4 separate regions of the Homo sapiens genome follow, and all the other regions are linked to region 1. Evidence: promoter capture Hi-C in 16 types of primary human blood cells and fetal thymus (Javierre and others, 2016). All regions are on one chromosome and are shown on one strand. The core of a region is centred on a gene start or on the middle of the fragment in contact, and the rest is flanking DNA. Distances in the headings are between cores, read along the strand shown.

Region 1 (2,802 bases), core at 48-2,547:
CTCACTGGCCCCCCAAACCCAGCACCCCGTCCTTTAAAAGCGACAAGAGAGGGACCCAGCTACTTGGAGTATGGGGTCTCTGTGCTCCCACCTTTATGAATGGGCCAGGGGCAACAGGGAGAGGAGGTCTGGAGGGGGAAACATTAGCATGGTTTTAAAAGGCGAATTTGCTTGGTGGTAATTGAGCTGGAAGAGTTCCTCGAGCTTTATAGGGTGGCATCATTTCACAGGCCGTTTGTTTGGAAATCACGCTAAGGACTAACGCAGGACTCCCCTTCGTCAAATGTTGTAAAGAGGAACCGTCTCTGAAATGCACCATTGTCAATCATCTTGGAGTGCTAATCATTCCAAGGAGGAGAGAGAGAGAAAGGCAGAGATACGGAGCGAGTGAGGAAGAAGACTCAGAAAGAGATTACGGTGGAGACAGACTGCCCAGACCCGACTTGCAGATCTCCACCTCGTGTCCGGAAAGAAAGTACCAGATGTGCAGTGATTGAGGACAGCCGGGTGTAAGGCCGGCCGCGTGTCCCTCTCGCTGTGGTCCACTCTCTCAACAACTCAACCTTCCCCAGGAAGCCCAAGCCGGCACGGGTCTGTGTTCGCCTGCTCCCAGGGGCCCACCGGGCGGAGGAGGCACCACAGTGCGCGCCCCTCTCCCCGCGGTCCCGAACCCCCGGCTGCCGCAGCTCTGGCCAGAGGGGGCCCGGCGCGGGAGTCTTGGCGGGGCGCTCAGCCTCCCTCCCCTCGCGCTCGCTCGCTGCCACACTGGCGACGTGCGATCCTTACCCAGGCAAGGAAAAGGGATGGGGGGATGGTGCTTGGGGCCCTGCTCCTTAGGGCCGTGCTGGTCTGGGCAGAAGCAGGCGGGCGCCTTCCAGCCGTCGTCCGGCTCCTCCTCCTCCGAGGACACGGACAGGCTGCGCTTCCTGGCTGGCCAGCCGACGGGCTCCCGCGGTGCCTCCGAGGGGCCCCCGCCCAGGATGGACTGGATGGTGAAGCTGGAGACGCCACCGGCCGCCGGACACCCCTTGCCCGCATCTTCTTTGCTGCCCATCCTGGGTTCATAAGAAATCGAAGGAAACCAAGAACTCCCTTTAGAGACGATCTGGGTGATCTGGGTGGAAGGTGGTGCAGCAGGCAGGCAGTGGGGAGGGGCGGGGAGGAAATCTAGGGGGAGGGGGCGCCGAGGCTGGTGAGGCGTCCCTTCCGCGCCAGGGACATGCAGGCACCGGATGGCTGCGCAGGGGTTCCTGCCCGCCTGGCTCTGGGTGCGCCCGCCCAGCCCCGGTGCAAATGCCCCTTCCTCGCCCGCCAACTCGCCGGGTCTCCGGCGGCGCGGAGGCGGCGCGGCCTCATTTGCATAGAGGTTACCCGAACGCGGCCAATCGCAGCGCCGCCGAGCGGCCCCGGAAAATTTCAAAACGCTCCGGCCAGGCACACAGCACCGGTGCGCCCCCAGAGCGCGCCGAGGGCCTGGCGGGCATCAGCGGCGTCTAACCAGGGGCAGCCAGGGCTGAAAGCAGCTGCAGATTCTAGCCCGGGTTCCTGGCGGCTGCGGCAACTCCGACTCCTTGGACCCCTTGGACCCTTCTCTCCAGAGGCAGGGGCGGTGCGGGACTCGGAGCTGGAGTGGCTCGACGCCTCCGCAGGCGACGGGTCTCCGCGCCTCCCAGGGGCTTGTACAGGCTGCTCCACCATCCTCCCCCAGCCCTCCACCCCTTCTAGCCCCAGTGGGCGGGCAAAGCCGGCACTCCTGGGACCGTGGCGCCCTGCGTGGGGGTGAGGTGGGTTAGGAGCAGGCGTCTCCAGGCGGACGCTCATCCTCTCCAGCATGGCCAGGAGCCTTGGGAGCAGACATTCCCCTTCCCCGTCTGCAGACCTCATCCCTGTCACAGGTTCTACGGACCTACAGAATCTTTAGGGGGAGGGAGGAAGCCCTAAGACCTCTAGTCAAGAGATCTGGGTTCAAATTCCGGCACAACTATTTACACACTGCATGAACTTGCACAACTCATGCCGATTAAAGCCTCTCTGCCCTCATAGTTGAAAATAACTTCTCGGATTGCCTCAGGTAGGGATTAAAAGCCTCGAAGCACTAGCAGCGCATAGTAGGTACTCCATAAACCTGGCCGGGTAGCCCATGGCCCACCCGTGTTTTAAGCGAATCTGTGTTTTTGTTTTGTAAATTTTGAAGGTTTCCGAACTGCTGCAGAAATAGACGCCTTACTCCCAGGAAGAAGATAAGGAACTGGTGACAGGACTCGGTTTTAGAATTGAGCAGACTCGACTCAATTCTCGGCTGGGTGATCTTGGGGGAAGACATTTGGAAATTCTGAGGCTCGGTTTCTTTATTCCTAAAATTGGAGGAAGCAGTGCCTCCCTCGCAGAGGCTGTTGTGAGGTCAAACTACCCAGCACCGAGCCTGGCACACCGTGGTGCTCAGTAAATAGTGATTCCCTCTGTGTTCTCATAGCCCCCTTCTGTGCCCTGGCTCTCGCCCCTTTAATTCCTAGATCAGCTGTTACCCGAGCTAGAATTAGCCCAGCCAAGCAAAGCGGTTTGGGGCCACAGTCGTCTGCACAAGCTTCCTGGAAACTGAAGTGAGGCAAGGCCCGAAGTGCTCAGGCAACCCCGTCCCCTCAAGCTGTGACCTCTAGACCTCTTGGCCAAGAGATTCCAGAAGCCCTGTCTTTAGGGTGCCCCCCAAGTGCAGCCAAGGGTGAGTGGAGACTCTGGAATCAGTCCCCACAAATGTCCAGACACTGCATGACTGTGCAGTTCCTTCCTCGCCTGCACCGCGCC
Region 2 (2,734 bases), core at 1-2,500, 1.2 Mb after region 1:
GAGTGTGGAGTGCAATGGCTCGATCTCGAGTCACTGCAACCTCCGCCTCCTGGGTTCAAGCGATTCTCCTGCCTCAGCCTCCCAAGTAGCTGGGATTACAGGCATGTGCCACCATTCCCGGCTAATTTTGTGTTTTTAGTAGAGATGGGGTTTCACCATGTTGGCCAGGCTGGTCTCAAACTCCTGACCTCAGATGATCTGCCCATCTTGGCCTCCAAAAGTGCTGGGATTACAGGCGTGAGCCACTGTGCCCAGCTGAGTTACTTTCAGTTCTTACACTTAGAAGGAATATTGTTACATACTTTTCTCCAATTTTTGATGCTCAAGACTGTACTGTAAATATATACCTGTATATAAATCAGGAGAACTAATAAGCACAAAACATTTTGCTAAGTTTTCTGAAGAGACCAGCATGTTAAATCATTGGGGATATTTATTAAAGTTTGAAGGTCTGATGCAGTCTGATTGCAGTGAGGACTTAAATTTATGCTGTCATAGAGACTATTGACTAATCCTCAAATAAATATAATTAACTTCGATGTGTTTTTTTGAATGAAAATATATATAGTGTCATTCTTTATTTGTGCTGTGTGTATGCCCAACTAACAGCTGTGAAGTATGTACAAACTTTTCATTTATCCAATATGAGTGTTTTGGAATTTTAACCTAAACACTCCTATTTTTTTTTTTTTTTTTGAGATGGAGTCTCACTCTGTCGCCAGGGCTGGAGTGCAGTGGCGTGATCTTGGCTCACTGCAACCTCCGCCTCCCGAGTTCATGTGATTCTCCTGCTGCAGCCTCTTGAGTAGCTGGGATTACAGGCGCCCGCCACTATGCCCAGCTAAATTTTTGTATTTTTAGTAGAGATGGGGTTTCACCATGTTGGCCAGGCTGGTCTTGAACTCCTGACCTTGTGATTTGCCCGCCTTGGCCTCCCAGAGTGCTGGGATTACAGGCATGAGCCACCGTGCCCGGACACACACTCCTATTTTTAAACCTCACACTTTGAATTTAAAAAAGAAAAAAGGTTACCCTGCCGTAATTAACACACTACTTATTTTTTCAGGCATGTGGGCACATTCCATGACAGTACAGGATTATCAGGATCTCATAGACCGAGGATGGCGAAGGTAAAGCTTCCAGATACAAAGAGACTTCCTACTGTTACTCAGGTTCTTGAAAAATACAGCATGCCTTTGAAATGCTTTCCTGTTGGAAAGAGGTTTAAGAAAAATTTTTATTATATTCTTTTATGTAGTGATTTTTTGTCTCCTTTTTAAAAAACTTTGTTAGGAAAATGTCAAATATCTATAAAAGCAGAGAGTACATTAGAATGAACCTCAAGTACCTATCACTAAGCTTCAGCAGTTATTAACGTTCTGCCAATCATGTTTGATTCTCCTGCTCCACCTTTTAATATTTAACAGCAAATTACATCAGTAGGTTATTATGACATTTATCCTATCAATAGATAGGCAATAAGTATGTATCTCTAAGAGAGAGGTCTTTTTTTCTTTTTAACTTATCCACAATGCTGTATCACACCTTACAAAATTAATAAAAATTCTTTGATGTTACCTGTTACCTACTTTTTATTAGATTTTCCAGATTGTCTCAAAAATGTCTTCTTTAACAGTTTATTTGGATAAGGATTTCCTTAAAGTCCACACATGGCCTGTTTTGAGTAGTTATTTTTATGTGGATGATTTTTAAGTAACTCTTAGGTAAAGTTCCTTGTGTAAATATAAGTAATATTAAATACTGTACGCTAATACTTGCCAAAGACGTGGGATTGGGAGCACCAGCTGAAATATCACAACTTTCCTTAAACTTAATGAGATTCAAAAGGTAGACATAGGTCAGATTTTAAAGGACTTCACATGCCATGATAAGGAACTTTTTTTTTTAGAGACATGGTCTCGCTCTGTTGCCCAGGCTAGAGTCGCTCTCTTGCCCAGGCTAGAGTACAGTGCCATCATCATAGCTCACTGTAACCCCAAATTCCCACACTCAAGTGATCCTCTTGCCTCAGCCTCTGCAGTGGCTAGGACTACAGGTGTGCATCACAACACCTGGCTAATTTTTCAGTTTTTTGTAAGATCTTGGCTATGTTGCCCGTGCTGGTCTCGAACATCTGGTTGCAAGTGTTCTTCCAGCTTAGCTTTTCAAAGTGTTGGGATTATAGGTATGAACCACCATGCCTGGCCAGAACTTTTTAGAAGGCAGTCATGGAAGGATTTTATGGTAAGAGAGAAATGTGAAGGAATTTGTTTTAGAAAAGATTGTTCAGATGGCTGAGAGGTATTTGAGGGGGGGTCATAGAGGCAGGAAGATGAGTTCAAAGGTTATTGCGCTATCCAGATGTGCGATGATGAGGACTGTCACCTTAGTGGCAATGGTGATAGAGAAGAGGGGACAATTTAGGATAGGGTTTAAAATGAAGGAAAGCTTGCTAATAGGATATAGAGGTGAATTCCAGGGAGGAGTTTAAAATGACTCCCAGGTCTCTGACTTGAGAACAGAATGAACAGTTCTGTTAGTACCATAGACCTGGAATGCATGGAAAGAAGCGGGTTAGTTTTGGGGTACTCCGTGCTGGTGCATGTGGAATACCCAAGTGTGGTTGTCACAGGCATCACATACATGAGTCCCACAGCATCGTGGGCATTTCTCTCATTGCCCTTGTGGTATTGGGGATTGGTGGCAGGTGAAGGCAGAGCAGGGGTGGCAGATG
Region 3 (2,700 bases), core at 1-2,500, 1.3 Mb before region 1:
CAGGGGCGGTGGTTCACGCCTGCAATCCCAGCACTTTGGGAGGCAGAAGCGGGCGGACAGCTTGTGCCCAGGAGTTCTAGACCAACCTAGTCAACATAGTGAGACCCTGTCTCTATTAAAGAAAGAAAGAAAAAGTACAATACAAAATTGAGGCCGGGCGTAGTGGCTTATGCCTGTAATCCCAGCACTTTGGGAGGCTGAGGCGGGTGGATCGCTTGAGATCAGGAGTTCGAGACCAGCCTGGTCAACATGGTGAAACCCCTGTCTCTACTAAAAATACAAAAATCACCTAGGTGTGGTGGCGCATGCCTGTAGTCCCAGCTACTCGGTAGGCTGAGGCGGAAGAACCGCTTGAACCTGGGAGGCGGAGGTTGCAGTGAGCCGAGATTGCACCACTGCACTCCAGCCGGGGCGACAGAGCAAGACTTTGTCTTAAAAAAAAAAAAAATTATATGCAGATAACAGCCCTGCATAGATGAGGATGCATAGGACCTGGGCTGAGAAGAAAACGGGACTATCACAATGCGTTAAACCCAGGAGGTTTTTGGATAAGCTATAAAATACCACTCGATGCTACATTATTTTTGCAATAAATACACATTGATATTAAAAGGGAGGAGTTTCCTCAATGGCCCCTCGGAACCTTTCAAGTTATTAAATAGAAACGAGAACACTTTACTTCTGGTCCAACATAGCTTTGAGCTTTCAAAGAAGAGAGGATCATATTATTTCACCATTTCTTTTCAGGCTCTTGATTCACAGAAAGGATGAGGAATTCGTTGAAATGTTATGGGGTTCAATGAATTGTGTATATTTTGTTGACATGCTTACTAGGGGAGCTGTTTACAAGTGAAATAAAATACAGTTCCTACCCTTTGGGATTTCCACTAATGGGGTTGGGGAGTAGTATACCTTATATAAGGGTTCTTAGTCGCAGACAATAGACACCACTCCAGCTAGAGGGGTTTTGTTTACATGAGGTGAAGGAGCTTACAGATGACGGGTCTAAGTCCTACACAGCCAGGAGCCATGCAGCCACGAGAAACACTTAATTTTACTACTCCATTGGGACCACTGCCCCATCACTTAGTGCAGCCCCCAGCATAGCTGCCCCCAAAAGAACAAAACATATCCACCACTGTGCCCTCCACCTGTGGCCACCCACTCACTTTCACTGTGTCTGGCTTGGTGGAACCTAGCCCACGCTGCAAAGGAGTCTGGGAAATGCAGTTTTTAGTGTTCCAGGGGCTGAGTGAGTCAGTTTGGAGAATCTGCTAGGAACATCATGAACCGTACACGTATTGAGACCCTACTCTGTGCAGTGGGCACAAAAAAGTTCTAGGGTGTGATCCTTGCCTTCCAGGATCAAGACTGGGCAGAGAACAATGGAAGACCTTCACGACTGCTGACCAAATGTGTGCCAAGTGGCAATGAGTGACACAGACACAGTCAAGAGGATGACCTCTGCAGGCCTAGGAGGGCAGCTGTGGCTTCTGGGCAGGGGCAGCCTGAAATGGACCTTGGAGAATGGCTGGGCTTTAGCTTCATGCCAAGGAGGAGGAAAAGGGGTGCTTCTGCCAGTGGTGTGAGCCTACCCATAGTTGTTTCTTTTCAGTCAGCTCTGTGGGTACTCTTGGGCAAGTCCCTTTTCATTTCTACGACTACAGTAGACAGAATAGTGCCCCCTTGAGATGTCCACCTCCCAATCCCCACAACCTCTAAATATATTACCTGACATGGCAAAAGGGACTTAGATCTTGCAGAGCCTATGCTCCTGTAGGGAGATTATCCTGGATGGTCCAGGTGGGCCCAGTATAATGACATGAGTCCTCATAAGGGAAAGAGGGAAGCAGGAGAGAGTCAGAGTCAGAGAAGGAGGTGTGACAGCAGAAGCAGAGGTCAGAGAGAGAGGTGTGAAGATACCGTGCTACTGGCCTTGAATACAAAGGGGCCATGAGCCAAGAAATGCAGGTGGCCTCTGGAAGCTAAAAAAGGCAAAGAATTGGATTCTCCCCTAGAGCCTCCAGAAGGAATGCAGCCCTGCTGGTACTTCAAGTTTAGGACTTCTTACCTCCAGAACTATAATAATAAATCTGTTGTTTTAAGCCACTAAGTATATGGTAATTTCTTGCAGTAGTGACAAGAAACAAATACAGGGATCCAGGTCCCTCACCTGAAAAATGTGGCAAGTCTCTAAGTGTGGGCCACTGATAGGCTAAAACTTGATCTGAAAATTCCAGGCTTTTCTTGGGATGCAATGAGTGTAGGGCATTGTCTATGTTAGGGTTGCATTTGGCTACATGTAACAGAAACCCAGCCATAGTTGCCCAACCAAATCAGATTTTACTTTTCCTCATATATCAAGAAGCCAAGAGGGAGGAAATCCTGGATGGGACAACAGCTCCCAGGACCATCAGGCTGCCTCCTGCTTTCTGCTCCACCACTCTCTCAGCATGTGGCCTGCTCCTCACGCTAGCAAGATTCCTGCTCCACCCGAGGCATCATGACTGCATTTCAGGCAGGAAGGAGGGGAAAGAAAAGAAAAAAGGGCATGTGACAGCTGAGTCTGACCCTTTATACCCAGAAAGCAAAAGCTTTCCCAGAACCCTGATCCAATGGACTCTCATTTGCATCTTTTGGGCCAGAGCTAGCCAGGTGGCACATGAACACCATAGTGTGCCAGGAAGCATACACCACTGA
Region 4 (2,700 bases), core at 124-2,623, 1.7 Mb before region 1:
TCTTACAGTAATCTTGCCATATACATAAACTGTGATATTAGTAGGCATTCAAGAAATAAAGGACCCATTTTTAATAGTCCATGGACACTAGGGGTATCACAAACCCTTACATATGGAACTATATTACATTATTAAATAGCTGGTTGTAGTACCCTAGGCCATAGTCTTCAAAGCTGCTTCTGGAAAAACCCATGATGTATATATTCCTATTCCTATCATTAAGTTCTACCATCAACACTGAAGAGATGAAAGGTACAATAATTTAATTGCATTCAATTTACTAATGGAATCACCTCCCTGTGAAATCAGTTTTTATTAATGGAAGCTAAGATTGCTGACATCAAACCAAATGCAGTTCCTCCTTCTGCAGTGTACCATTTTGCTTTGTAATGACAACCAAAAACCCCACACATAGGTTTAATGAGTTTGAATCATTCACTATTAACATCACTTAAAATAATCCCCCAATTTGGTGGCCAAATTATATACCTCCTTTAAGAGAGAAGTGATCTAGTTTCACAAAGCATTTCCAATCAGAGGCCAATGACGTTAAAAGACAATTTGTAAAATAAAGACACTGAAACAGACAGGATCTGCTCCTCCTGTGGGCTCACAGCCTATGCATTTCCCATCACTCAGTAGTGGGCCTGTCACTTCCCTATTTCACTGTGACTAGTGAAAGAACTAGTCACAAAGAACTAAACACGCAACTTCAAGGAAATACAAAATAGACCCTGCACCGAACGCTCCTGTATACATTCTCCATTTTGCATCAGGGCGAAGAAAACACACAACCGTGTCTAACAAGTATCAGTAGTGACAGCCACGGTTTCACTCGCAGCACCCCCACGACAACCTGCGAGACCGGCGGGCGGGGCTGAGTACCTCGCCTACTGGACTAAACGCCCGGCCTTTAGATTCCTTCCCGACCCCGTGCGCCCCTCTTAAGTCTAGAAGCCTGACTTTCAGGGAGGGGCAGGCGCTCGGTTTCCACCGAGCGACTCCTGACACTGCAGGAGGCCAGGTGGGACAGTTTTGCTGCACGGGAGACGGCTGTGCCGGGACGGCCGAGCGGCTGAGAGCGCGAAGCCAGGGGGCCTGTCCCAGGGGCGAAGGAGCCCCCAGAGGCAAGAGCTCACCGGGGGCGGGAGCCGCCCGGGTCACCAGCTCCTCCGGCCGGCCCTGGTGCCCAGGGGGCGAGCCGCATGAGGTCCCGGCTTGGCCGCGAGCGCCGGCCTGAGACAGAGGCTGAAAGCCCCCAGCGGGCGCGGCAGGGGGCCCGGCACCTACGTGGTCCGCGTTGCTGTTGGCGCTGTGGAAACACACAGCACTGAAGGTGTAGCCCGAAATGGACGCCGCCATGATGGAAATCTCCAGCTACCCCATCATGCCCCGCGGAGGGCACACGGCCTTCCGGACGGCCCGACCCCTTGGCATCATGGGAAGTGGAGTCTGCGGCGGGCAGCGGCCGAGGGCCCTGAGCGCTCACAGTCTTGAAGGCTGAGGAACGCCGGTTTTTGCGATCGGAAGGACCCCGGCACCGTATCCTCCGCAGGGGTGTCGCTCCCGACACGCCTCAGACAGCGGTTGATAGTTCCGCAAACAGTTCTTTCCCTTTGCAAGTGAAACCTTAGTATTAAAAGACAACATTCTAGCCGGGCGCAGTGGCTCACGCCTGTAATCCCAGCACTTTGGGAGGCCGAGGCGGGCGGATCACCTGAGGTCAGGAGTTCGAGACCAGCCTGACCAACATGGAGAAACCCTGTCTATATTGAAAATACAAAAACTAGCCGGGCGTGGTGGCACATGCCTGTAATCTCAGCTACTCGGGAGGCTGAGGGAGGGGAATGGCTTGAACCCGGGAGGCGGAGGTTGCGGTGAGTCGAGATCGTGCCATTGCACTCCAGCCTGGGCAGCAAGAGCGAAGCTTCGTCTCAAAAAAAAAAAAAAAAAAAAAAAAAAAAGGCCAACATTTAGGCTGAGCGTGGTGGCTCGCGCCTGTAATCCCAGCACTTTGGGAGGCCGAGGTGGGCGGATCACGAGGTCAGGAGTTTGAGACCATCCTGGCTTACACGGTGAAACCCCGTCTCTACTAAAAATACAAAAAATTAGCCGGACGTGGTGGCGGGCTCCTGTAGTCCCAGCTACTCAGGAGGCTGAGGCAGGAGAATGGCGTGAACCTGGAAGGCGGAGCTTGCAGTGAGCCGAGATCGCGCCACTGCACTCCAGCCTGGGTGACAGACCAAGACTCCGTCTCAAAAACAAAACAAAACAAAAAGCCAACATTTGAGGCCGGGCGCGGTGGCTCATGCCTGTAATCCCAGCACTTTGGGAGGGGGGGGCGTGTGTGGGGAGTGTTAACCTGAGGTCAGGAGTGTTATGCGCGTTTGTGTGAAGAGACCACCAAACAGGCTTTGTGTGAGCAACAAGGCTGTTTATTTCAACTGGGTGCAGGCGGGCTGAGTCCGAAAAGAGAGTCAGCAAGGGAGATAGGGGTGGGGCCGATTTATAGGATTTGGGTAGGTAGTGGAAAATTACAGTCAAAGGGGGTTGTTCTCTGGTGGGAAGGGGCGGGGGTTACAAGGTGCTCAGTCGGGGAGCTTCTAAGCCAGGAGAAGGAATTTCACAAGGTAATGTCATCAGTTAAGGCAGGAACCGGTCATTTTCACTTCTTTTGTGATTCTTCAGTTACTTCAGGCC

What was found. The method cuts DNA at HindIII sites, captures the fragments that hold promoters and counts their contacts. A CHiCAGO score of 5 or more calls a contact.
Region 2: a fragment that was not itself captured here is called in contact with the fragment with the promoter of HMX2 in region 1 in 1 of 17 cell types (activated CD4 T cells); the score reaches 6.3 in activated CD4 T cells.
Region 3: a contact is called between a fragment that was not itself captured here and the fragment with the promoter of HMX2 in region 1, in 5 of 17 cell types (neutrophils, activated CD4 T cells, fetal thymus and 2 more). The highest score is 16.2, in neutrophils.
Region 4: the fragment with the promoter of ABRAXAS2 here is called in contact with the fragment with the promoter of HMX2 in region 1 in 1 of 17 cell types (neutrophils); the score reaches 5.6 in neutrophils.

What each region holds. Positions count from the first base shown.
Region 1 is chr10:123,146,631-123,149,432 of GRCh38, reverse strand. It overlaps HMX2 (H6 family homeobox 2), which reads right to left and starts at 1,297. Exons shown (of 2, transcript NM_005519.2): 1 at 787-1,297. The coding sequence starts at 1,054. RefSeq lists silencers at 588-717, 1,108-1,427. The HindIII fragment of the contact is 9,748 bases long and covers 1-2,586 here.
Region 2 is chr10:121,922,662-121,925,395 of GRCh38, reverse strand. ATE1 (arginyltransferase 1) reads left to right here. Exons shown (of 12, transcript NM_001001976.3): 2 at 1,067-1,130. Among named protein-coding and RNA genes, the nearest start is that of ATE1, 4.0 kb to the left of the region's middle. The HindIII fragment of the contact is 223 bases long and covers 1,139-1,361 here.
Region 3 is chr10:124,458,872-124,461,571 of GRCh38, reverse strand. No RefSeq gene overlaps it. Among named protein-coding and RNA genes, the nearest start is that of LHPP, 1.6 kb to the left of the region's middle. The HindIII fragment of the contact is 2,693 bases long and covers 1-2,596 here.
Region 4 is chr10:124,800,492-124,803,191 of GRCh38, reverse strand. It overlaps ABRAXAS2 (abraxas 2, BRISC complex subunit), which reads right to left and starts at 1,373. Exons shown (of 9, transcript NM_032182.4): 1 at 1,291-1,373. The coding sequence starts at 1,362. RefSeq lists a silencer at 1,098-1,177 and enhancers at 666-1,219, 1,278-1,547, 1,220-1,774. The HindIII fragment of the contact is 5,454 bases long and covers 1-1,929 here.